Linked DNA regions of Homo sapiens: all the other regions are linked to region 1. Evidence: promoter capture Hi-C in 16 types of primary human blood cells and fetal thymus (Javierre and others, 2016). All regions are on one chromosome and are shown on one strand. Each heading gives the region's core, a stretch centred on a gene start or on the middle of the fragment in contact. The rest is flanking DNA. Distances are from core to core; before and after follow the strand shown. Region 1 holds the start of SLAMF7 (SLAM family member 7). Region 2 overlaps CD244 (CD244 molecule). Region 3 overlaps SLAMF1 (signaling lymphocytic activation molecule family member 1).

Evidence for each region. The method cuts DNA at HindIII sites, captures the fragments that hold promoters and counts their contacts. A CHiCAGO score of 5 or more calls a contact.
Region 2: a contact is called between a fragment that was not itself captured here and the fragment with the promoter of SLAMF7 in region 1, in 2 of 17 cell types (activated CD4 T cells and total B cells). The highest score is 5.4, in activated CD4 T cells.
Region 3: a contact is called between a fragment that was not itself captured here and the fragment with the promoter of SLAMF7 in region 1, in 4 of 17 cell types (total CD8 T cells, naive CD4 T cells, activated CD4 T cells and 1 more). The highest score is 6.6, in total CD8 T cells.

The regions. Positions count from the first base shown.
Region 1 is chr1:160,737,058-160,740,496 of GRCh38, reverse strand. SLAMF7 (SLAM family member 7) reads right to left here and starts at 1,250. Exons shown (of 7, transcript NM_021181.5): 1 at 1,141-1,250. The coding sequence starts at 1,195. LOC124904440 (a long non-coding RNA gene) reads left to right here and starts at 1,338. Exons shown (of 2, transcript XR_007066687.1): 1 at 1,338-1,414. The HindIII fragment of the contact is 11,353 bases long and covers 1-3,439 here.
Region 2 is chr1:160,840,202-160,843,821 of GRCh38, reverse strand. CD244 (CD244 molecule) reads left to right here. Exons shown (of 9, transcript NM_016382.4): 2 at 1,921-2,238; 3 at 2,337-2,612. Among named protein-coding and RNA genes, the nearest start is that of CD244, 21 kb to the left of the region's middle. The HindIII fragment of the contact is 2,302 bases long and covers 541-2,842 here.
Region 3 is chr1:160,620,065-160,623,305 of GRCh38, reverse strand. The region is part of intron 4 of SLAMF1 (signaling lymphocytic activation molecule family member 1); the gene reads left to right. Among named protein-coding and RNA genes, the nearest start is that of SLAMF1, 25 kb to the left of the region's middle. The HindIII fragment of the contact is 1,693 bases long and covers 1,088-2,780 here.

The DNA.
Region 1 (3,439 bases), core at 1-2,500:
GGTACACTACACAGGCTGCCTCTGGAGGAGGGCAGAGGGGGACCTGCATGGCAGTTTTTCATACTTGTGCTCTTTCGCTGACTGATTTCAGATGGACACCTGTAGCTTTCAAAGTCTCTATAATTTTCCCCAACCCCTCCACCTTATCTCCCTCAAGTTCTATTTCTGCTCATCATTTCCGTTCAGGGAGTTTTTTTTTTGTTTTTTTTTTTTAAAGTGAGGGCCTATTCCAGAACCACCTGGTTAGACCCAGGTACCTCTCAAAAATACAAACTTCTGATGAATTCAAAGTGGGTAAGAGTCTGCTGATGCTGACCACTTAGCGATGCAGGGGAAAATATTGGGGGCACCAGCTGCCTGCGTGGTCTTGGGCAGATCACTCCAGGCAGGCTCAGATACACATAATGAAGCAGTTATGTGAAGTCCTTATAGGGGGACCTCATGGTAGTACTCCATGAGATTGATGACAGAAGAGATATTTCTCACTTATAGGGCTCCTGATCCTTTCTGAGAGCCCTTAGGATAGAAAAATCTTCAAAGACTAGAATACCAGTGACAGGTGGAGAACTGTCCTCTGTCCTCCATGGGATTAAACATAAAGTGCCTATGGTATGAGTTGGTTCTCTAAGTAGAGACTGATTACATTGCTTGAGTAAGGAAAGAAAATTCAAGTGATTCTTTCCATTTATATTACTGTTATGCATAACCAATTTTATAAATACATTTATAAGTAAATAAATACATACCTGTATAGTATCATCTTGTTCTTAAAGTTGCCCTCAAAAGGAGAGAAGGCTAGAAGATAAAGTTTCTGAGGCCCAGGAAAACTTTAACATTCCTTATCTAACTCATGGCAGAACCTGGATTAGAAAAATGGTCTCTGATACCCAGCACCACTTCTTTCAGCTCCTTCATCCCTGGGACAGTCAACAGGGGAGTCAGTTCCCAGAGCCATTTTTCCCCCTCTCTCTAGTCTCTTCCTGACCTGAGAATCAGAGATCAGAGATTGATAAAAAGCAAATGTTAGATGAGAACACAGAGCCTCCCGAGTTGAGCCAGAGGCCCAGAGTGGAACAAGAAACCTGGAACTATTCAGGATGGGGTAGACAGGAGAGTGGAAGAGAATCCGGCCGGACTCACCTGTGAGCTGCCAAAGGATATAGATGAGGGTGAGGCATGTTGGGGAACCAGCCATATTGCTCTCTGGAAGTCAGCCACTGAAATGAAGCCACTTCCCTCTTAGGTATTACTCAGACCTCTTCCCCAGCTGATATTTAAAGAAGCAGGAGGGGTCACGCCGCAGACATGTGAGATTGAGTAATTGCTAAATTATTTTCAGAGTGAATAGAGCATTTTACCTTGCCACCAGCAATCTATGAGAGATCTATTTGCTCCCCATCTTCATCAGCATTTGGTATATTCCCATTTTATATTTTAGCTGTTTTAATAGGTGCTGTAGTGATACCTCATTGTGGCTTTAATTTGCATTTCCCTAAAGCCTAATAATGTTGAACATCTTTTCATGTGCTTATTTGCCATCTATATATCCATATCCTCCTTGGTGAAATGTCTATTTATGTCTTTTGTCCATTTTATAATCAGATTCTTTATTTTTTTTACTGTTGAGCTTTGACAATTCCTTATATGTTCCAAGTATAAGAGTCATTTGTCAGATATGTGGTTTACAAATATTTTCTCTTGGTCTGTAGCCTGTCTTTTCATCTTCTTAACGGGGTCTTTGGCAGAGCAAAAATTTTAATTTTGATGAAATTCAACTTATCAGTTTTTTTTCTACCCACACTAGGGTCCAAAGGTTTTCTCCTGAAAGTTTTATAGTTTTATGTTTTACATTTAAATGTATGATCCTGTTTTAATGTAAGGTGTGAAGTTTAGGTTGAGATTCACCTAAATATATTGTCTATATTCATTGAGAACCATATCAGGTAATATGGTTGACAGTTTTTTTTTGCTTTCGACACTTGAAAAGTGTCATGACACTCCTCCCCTCCATGGTTTCCAGTGAGAAATCAGCCATCATTTAAATTGTTTTCCCTATAGGTAATGTGTCATTTTTCTCTAGCTGTTTTAAAAGTTTTTTGTTTGCCTTTGGTTTTCAGAAGTATGATTACAATGTGCGTGTTTTTTTTTCTTCTGCCTGTGGGTGTTCAATTGTTCTACTACCATGTGATGGAAAAGATGATCTTTCCTACATTGAATTACTTTTGTATCTTTATCAAAAATCAGCACTTATACTTGTGTGGGTATATTCTGGAGCTATCTATTCTATTTAACTGACTTACATAATGTAATTATTTATATATCAGAGCTTAAGTTTGCCATGTTATTATTTTCTCTTTGTTCTTCTGGGCTTTTGTTTGTTTATTTTGTTCCTCTGTTTCACTTTCCTGGCCATCCTGTGTGTTACTGGAATATTTTTTATAATTCCATTTTGATTTATCTATAATGTATCTTTTTGAAGAGTTTTTTTACTGGTTGCTGTACATATTGCATTTTACATACATAACTTTTGATCTACCTATCAGTGTTGACATTTTACCAGTTGAACTAGGTATAGAAAACTTACCTATATTAGGTTTCTTTATTAGTCTATCTTTATACTTGTCTTAAATATATTGTCTATATTCATTGAGAACCATATCGGTAAGATTATAAGTTTTGCTTCAATTGTTGAACATAATTCAGAACACTCAAGAGGAGAAGGACAATCCATTACATTTACCCATATTTTAACTCTTTTCATTGTTATTTCTTTATTTCTAATGTTTCAAGTTTCCTTCTTTTTATTTTTTTTTGGACGAAGTCTTGCTCTGTCATACAGGCTGGAGTGTAGTGGCATGATCTTGGCTCACTGCAATCTCCGCCTCCTGGGTTCAAGCGATTCTCCTGCCTCAGCCTCCTGAGTAGCTGGGACTACAGGCTCATGCCACCATGCCCACCTACTTTTTGTACTTTTAGTAGAGATCAGGTTTCGCCATGTTGGCCAGGCTAGTCTCAAACTCCTGACCTCAGGTGATCCACCAACTTTGGCCTCCCAAAGTGCTGGGATTACAGGTATGAGCCACCACACCCAGCCTTCAAGTTTTCTTCTTTAATCATTTCTTTCTGTTTCAAGATATTCTTTAGGAATTCTTTTATGATAAGCCTGCTGATAACAAATTATCTTAGTTTTCCTTCACCTGAGAATGTCTTGATTTAACCCTCATTCCTGGGTATAAAATTCTAGGTTGACAGTTTTTTTTCTTTCAACACTTGAAAAGTGTCATGACACTCCTCCCCTCCATGGTTTCCAGTGAGAAATCAGCCGTCATTTAAGTTGTTTTCCCTGTAGGTAATGTGTCATTTTTCTCTAGCTGTTTTAAAAGTTTTTTGTTTGTCTTTAGTTTTCAGAAGTGTGATTATAATGTGTCTTGGTGTGAAT
Region 2 (3,620 bases), core at 442-2,941, 100 kb before region 1:
CAACAGTCAGAAATGCTGATCTCACCTCTCTGAATTTCCTTCTTCCAGATATTGGCCCCATAATTTTTCACTGCTTTATAAACTCTCTGATAACTTTAACAATGTGCTTTTACATGTTGTTCATTTTTCTTCTAGCTATTTTTAGTGGGAGGATTGGTTAGCATGTCTTAACCTGGATTTTCATTACATAATTAGAATTCCTTCGATGATTTTTTATCTCAACAATTAAGGGGATGCTGTAGAATGAAAGTGTTCTGTTTCCAGATCACAAACTCTCTGGAGTCAGGAATCATGCCTTATACATGAAGAGGCCCTGCCTCTTCAGGGGCTGGATTGCAGTGGGACTCAGTAAGGACTGAATAATTGATGAAGACAGTATATGTCCTCCTTGTAGGTTTAGTAATGATTTTTTCCATTCACCTTTGTTCTCAGGGTCTTTGTGCAATATTTGGTAGGTTGACTTGTTCTTATAAATAGTGCTAGGATCGTAGGAGACAGAGACACAGAGATGCACAGCACAGTCTCTGCTTTTGAGAAGCTTTTGGTTTGCTAATGGGCAGAGCCAGTACAAGTCATATAAATATAAATGGGAACCTATGTGTTTTAGTCTTAGGAGCATCAAGATCAAAGAAACATATTTCATCAAACAAATAGTATTACAAGTCCTTTAATTATTTACTTAGTCTCTTGAGAAAATGCCAGGGTGAAGCTGTGGCTTGGAGAGACTGCATTCATAATGCACTGGACATATAAAAACCCCTCTGTCTCAATTGCTCTCTTCTTAATAGCCTCCATTTTAACGGAGCCACTTGTAAAACTCTCCCCATCTCTTATTTTCTCTTCCAAATCCTCCCTGAGCCTCCCCAACTCACCCAGAGAGACTTTTTAATTTCCTGCACCTGCTGGGCCATGCCACATAGCTTTATTACTAAAAATGGCTGTAGGAACTTCCAGTTTTGTACACTGACTGCACAGAATTGCTCTAGGTTGTCACACCCCCATATTCATTAGGTTTCATCTTGATTCTTTGAGAGGCAAGTGCTGGGATCTGCCTGGGAAGTGTAGTTTTATTTTTAAAATTGTTTTCTAGGGAGAAATTTTTGTGGAGACTTTCTGATCACTGAAAAACTGGCAAACATCAATAAGTAATGACCAAAATCCAATGAACCAAGTGCCACGAGAGAGGATTATGTATTCAGCTCTGTGAGAGGATGGTTGAGGGGCCATGAGTTCAGCTTGGACGGTTAGTCTTCCTGGGCCTGACCATTCAGAATTTCCAACAGTCACTACTTGCCATTAGTAGTTGCCTCAGCACTGCTTGGAGGGAGTCACCTTAGATGTGGTATTTATAGCATCATGGTTAAGAATTTATCCTCTCAAGCCAAACTGCTGTCTTTACAAAGAGTAAACAAATAAGCTCCCTAGCACCTGTGCTCCCAGCTACTAGGGAGGTTGAGATGGGAGGATCACCTCAAGCCCAGGAGTTCAAGGCTGCAGTGAGCTGTGATTGCGCCACTGCACTCCAGCCTGGGTGACAGAGTGAGACCCTGTCTCTAGAAAACAAAACAAAAGAAAACAAAAACATAACACCAAACTGACTAGGTTTCAGGCTCATCATTCTTTTAACTCATCATACCTTTTAACTTAAATAGTTAAAATGTATAAAGTGTGAAACCTGCCTGTCACATAGTAAGTACTCAAGATTTTAGCTATTGGTCTATGGGATCCCTCAGACTAGGGACACAGAGCTTGGGGACAAGGGGAGGCAGATGGAGGGGATATGCTTTAAGGTGCTCCTAGGTTCTGGGCTCCTCATACTCATCCCCACCCAATTGGCTTAAGGGAAGTCACATCCAGCTGCCCACATTGCTCAGGCCTGACACTCTTCCCGCTACTTTCAGCTTGGGTTCTCTTTCCTAGGATGCCAGGGATCAGCTGACCATGTGGTTAGCATCTCGGGAGTGCCTCTTCAGTTACAACCAAACAGCATACAGACGAAGGTTGACAGCATTGCATGGAAGAAGTTGCTGCCCTCACAAAATGGATTTCATCACATATTGAAGTGGGAGAATGGCTCTTTGCCTTCCAATACTTCCAATGATAGATTCAGTTTTATAGTCAAGAACTTGAGTCTTCTCATCAAGGCAGCTCAGCAGCAGGACAGTGGCCTCTACTGCCTGGAGGTCACCAGTATATCTGGAAAAGTTCAGACAGCCACGTTCCAGGTTTTTGTATTTGGTAAGTCTCCAGGACTGTTCATACTGCCCTCTCTGATTCCTATAGGCCTCTAAGTTCTGTATTTCCAATGCCTTTCTGATCAGAATCTCTGCTTCCAGATAAAGTTGAGAAACCCCGCCTACAGGGGCAGGGGAAGATCCTGGACAGAGGGAGATGCCAAGTGGCTCTGTCTTGCTTGGTCTCCAGGGATGGCAATGTGTCCTATGCTTGGTACAGAGGGAGCAAGCTGATCCAGACAGCAGGGAACCTCACCTACCTGGACGAGGAGGTTGACATTAATGGCACTCACACATATACCTGCAATGTCAGCAATCCTGTTAGCTGGGAAAGCCACACCCTGAATCTCACTCAGGACTGTCAGAATGCCCATCAGGGTAAGTGGAACACACTGGGCTATAACAAGCGCTGAAGGTTTGGACCCCGCAACCAGGCTCATGTGCAAGACAGATGTGGTATGAGATAAAATCCCTTGGCCTCCTCTCCCAGTGCCTTGTAGCCCTTCCCAGGGTAGCCCTGGCCTCCAGGCACACAGTTCCTGTAAAGCTAGGCCTATCCTACTCTGGAAAAAAATGTTATCCCTATTTCCTTCTGGGAGATGCAAGCTTTTCTTCTGCAGAGGGAGGGCATAGTTGTTTGGTGAGTGACAGTCCTGAAATGGCTCCTGAACATTATTTTCTTCCTGGGAGAGGCTGATGGAGAACTGTCCTCTCCTCTTGAGTGATAACTTTCTCCAAGCCACATAGTTCAAGAGGTAACTACACTGTGCAGCAGTAGCCTGGAGCAGGAGCATCAGGATGACCCCAGGGATACCTAGATGAGTTCTTGGGCTGTTGCTTATGCTCATCCTAAGAGTTACCTGAGTTACCGTTCCACAACTTTTTATTACATAAACAGGGACTTAATGTACCAGCAGCATGGGCATTATAGGAAAAAAAAACCATACAGCTCTCATTCATAAGGAACTTATAGCCAAATGGGGCAACAAAAATAACTACTTGTGGACAAAAAAGAAACAAGACTGAGGCAGGCCGGGCGCAGTGGCTCCCTGTAATCCCAGCACTTTGGGAGGCTGAGGTGGGTGGATCACAAGGTCAGGAGTTTGAGACCAGCCTGGCCAACATGGTGAAACCCTGTCTCTACTAAAAATACAAAAAATTAGCTGGGCGTGTTGGCGGGCACCTGTAATCTCAGCTACTCAGGAGGCTGAGGCAGGAGAATTGCTTGAACCCAGGAGGCGGAGGTTGCAGTGAGTCAAGATCATGCCACTGAACTAGGACACTGGCTTCATCATTCAGAAGCTCTGTGATCTCTTAGAGGTCAGGTGTGGTGGCTCACACATGTAATCCTAGCACTTTGGGAGGCTGAGGCAGGTGGATCACTTG
Region 3 (3,241 bases), core at 685-3,184, 120 kb after region 1:
CAGGTAGGAGGGATGGGTGATTCAGATAGAAATTAGGTTGACAGCCTATGGGGCTCGGGGTAGGGCAATCACATTTAGCTCATACTATAAGGAAATAGTGAGATGACCCAGGATGAGAAAACTGAACTTAACTTATCCACATTAACCTACCTAGTAAAATTGCTGGGATCCTACGCCATACTCTTTCCTCAACCACACTTGGCTTATCACATGGTTGTGCTCTAAGGGAATAGTGCTCCCCATCCCACAATTCCCCACTACCTTCCCCAACACACATACCCATCCTCACCTCAACCCCATTCACCATTTGTCCCTTGTAAGTTAGCAACACACAAAACTGCCTCAAACTTGCGGTAAAATTTATATTTAGTTGCTGCACCTTTCATAAAACCTTGCTAAAGAAATTATATTGGCAGCTTCTAATGCTATAATCATCAGAATGCAGCCTGACGCTGAAGGCTTTTCAATTTCATGACTCTTTGGCAATTTCATGTCCAGGAGAATACACTGATAAAGAATGTGGGTATAGGCATTAGACAAACTTACATTCAGATGCAGATTTTGCTACTGACAAGCTGTGTGATCAAATGACTTAACTTCTCGTCTGCAAAACAGGGGTAATACTATGTACTTCATGGTATTGTGGTGGAGATTGGTATCAATACACAGAAAACACTGAACACAGTGGTTCCCATCGATGGGTGATAGATAGATAGATACATAGACAGATAGATACATAGACAGATAGACAGATCTCTTAGTGTAGATGAATTAAAATGGCAATGTGTAAGTGCTATGGCCAGGAGAAGCTGCACTGGAAGCATCTGGAAACAATACCTAGAACAGATTGAAAATATTTTAAGTCATGGTAACATAAGACTTTATGCTTCAGGTAAAAGCTGAAAAGGATATTAGATACTCTATGCCCTCATTTTACAGTTATGGTAAGAGAAAAGACCCATTGAGATGACGTGATTTGTCCAATGCCACACAGCTAATGATGGCTACAATGTAGATGTCCTAATTTTAAGGCCAAGACTTTTTCCTTAGAGCCTAAGACCTTGCTGACTTGGAGCCGAGTTAAGCTTACTCCTAAAAACCTGTTCTTGCACTGGGGAAAATAACCTGAGACTAAATTATCTTGGTCCAATGGTCCTTTTAAGCAGCAACAATCAACCTCACCTCTTCCATCTGTCTGACCATTTAGGACTGTCCTTCCAGTTCTACATTTGACTCTGAGCTGACCTGCAAGACTGAAAGTCTTTGAGGACTGTAGTCTGTTCTCTACTCTATTTGTAGCCACTACAGCACCTAGGAGAGTGCTGGGCAGGCATGTCTTACTTTGCAAACACTCGTGGGGACTAACTTGAACCTCCTCTGCTACCTCCAACTGCTTCTTGAGTCCTCCCCTCCATTTTACACACACACACACACACACACACACACACACGCACTCACGCACACTCCTCAGTCAGGATCAACTCTGACCAAAAAAGCGAAGTTGAAACCACTAGGCACACCGTGCTCATACCCACACACAAAAAATCCCATGTTGACTTTCCTTGAATTCCTGGAACTTCATCAGTGTCTGCCCCACATTTCCTCCCCAAGACTCACACCCTCACGCAGCACATTCCACCATGCTCACCACATACACACTGGGCCTTTCCCTTCCAAAGAAAAATGTGCCTCTCCTAAAAATGCTATTTCCTCAGAGATGTGCCTTTTTTTTTTTTTTTTTTTTTTTGAGATAGATTCTTGCTCTGTCACTCAGGCTGGAGTGCAATGGCATGATCTCGGCTCACTGCAACCTCTGTCTCCTGGGCTCAAGCAGTTCTTCTGTCTCAGCCTCCTGAGTAGCTGAAATTATAAGCGCGTGCCACCATGCCTGGCTAATTTTTGTATTTTTAGTAGAGACAGGGTTTCCCCATGTTGGCCAGGCTGGTCTCAAACTCCTGACCTCGTGATCTGCCCACCTCAGCCTCCCATAGTGCTGTGATTATAGGCGTGAGCCACTGCACCCAGCCCAGTTTTTTAAGAGAATAAATTAACTGGTGTTAAAATAAGTCTACCTTAAAGGCTGTGATTTTCTGGGTCCAGCCTCCATTGCCTCTGCCTGGACTTTGCAATAATCCCATAATAAACCTCCATCCTTCAGTCTGCCACTTTCCCACCATCCTTACTGCTGCATGATGTATACAAAGGATACTGTGCAACTTTAGAAAGAATGAGATAGGTCTACTGTGCTAACATGAAAAATGTCCTCAATACATTTTAAGTGAAAAGATCAAGTTACAGAGAAGTGTGTGCAGAATGACACCTCTTGTGTGGAAAAAAGTCTATATAAGTATAGCAAATATCCAAAACTGCATTGTCTAATATGGTAGTCACTAGCCACATGTGGCTTTTTAAATTTAAATTAATTTGAATTAAATAAAATTTAAAATTCAGTGACATTAGTCACAGTTCAGGTGCTCCATAGCCCCGTGTCTGTAAGCTGTATTAGACACTGCAGATATGGAACATTTCCATCATCTCAGAAAGTTCTGTTGCACAGAGCTGATCTACAGGGATATACATCAAACTTTTAAAAATGGTTTCTTCTTTTTTTTCCCACTTCTTTTCACAGGTATTGAAAAATACGGTTTCTTTTGGGAATGAAATTGGGTTGGTTAATGGAAGAAGGGGATTTATACTTTTTACTTTATACTTTATATATTTCTTCACAATTTTTATTTTATGATGAGAATAAATTACTCCTATAATTTAAAAAGAAAGCTTTTTAAAATTGGCTAAAAATTAAAATATTCTGCAACTTATTAATTTCCAGAGACCCTAGGCCCTGAGCAAAATTTCCAGATGGTGGGCAACAGAATGACATTGTTGCTTTATTTTCTAAATAGTCCCAGGTGGAACATCCCTCTTACACGTCCCCCCGCCCTTACCTCCCACACATCAATTCCCCCAGAAATAGGGAGGTGAGAAAGCTGTGAGTGAAGCAACATACTACCAGCTGGAAAATACAAAAGAGGTATAAACAACTAGCCCTGCCCTCAAAGAACTTAGAATCCTATTAGGAGACCAGATATGCACATTGAGCAACAGAGATTAAAGTAATTGAATGGTACACCAATGAGAAAAACACCTAATGCGTATTGGGCATTTGTTATGCACCAGGCAGTGTTCTAAACACTTTACAAGTGGTATCTCATTTAATTATCACAACAGCCCCGTGAGGCAG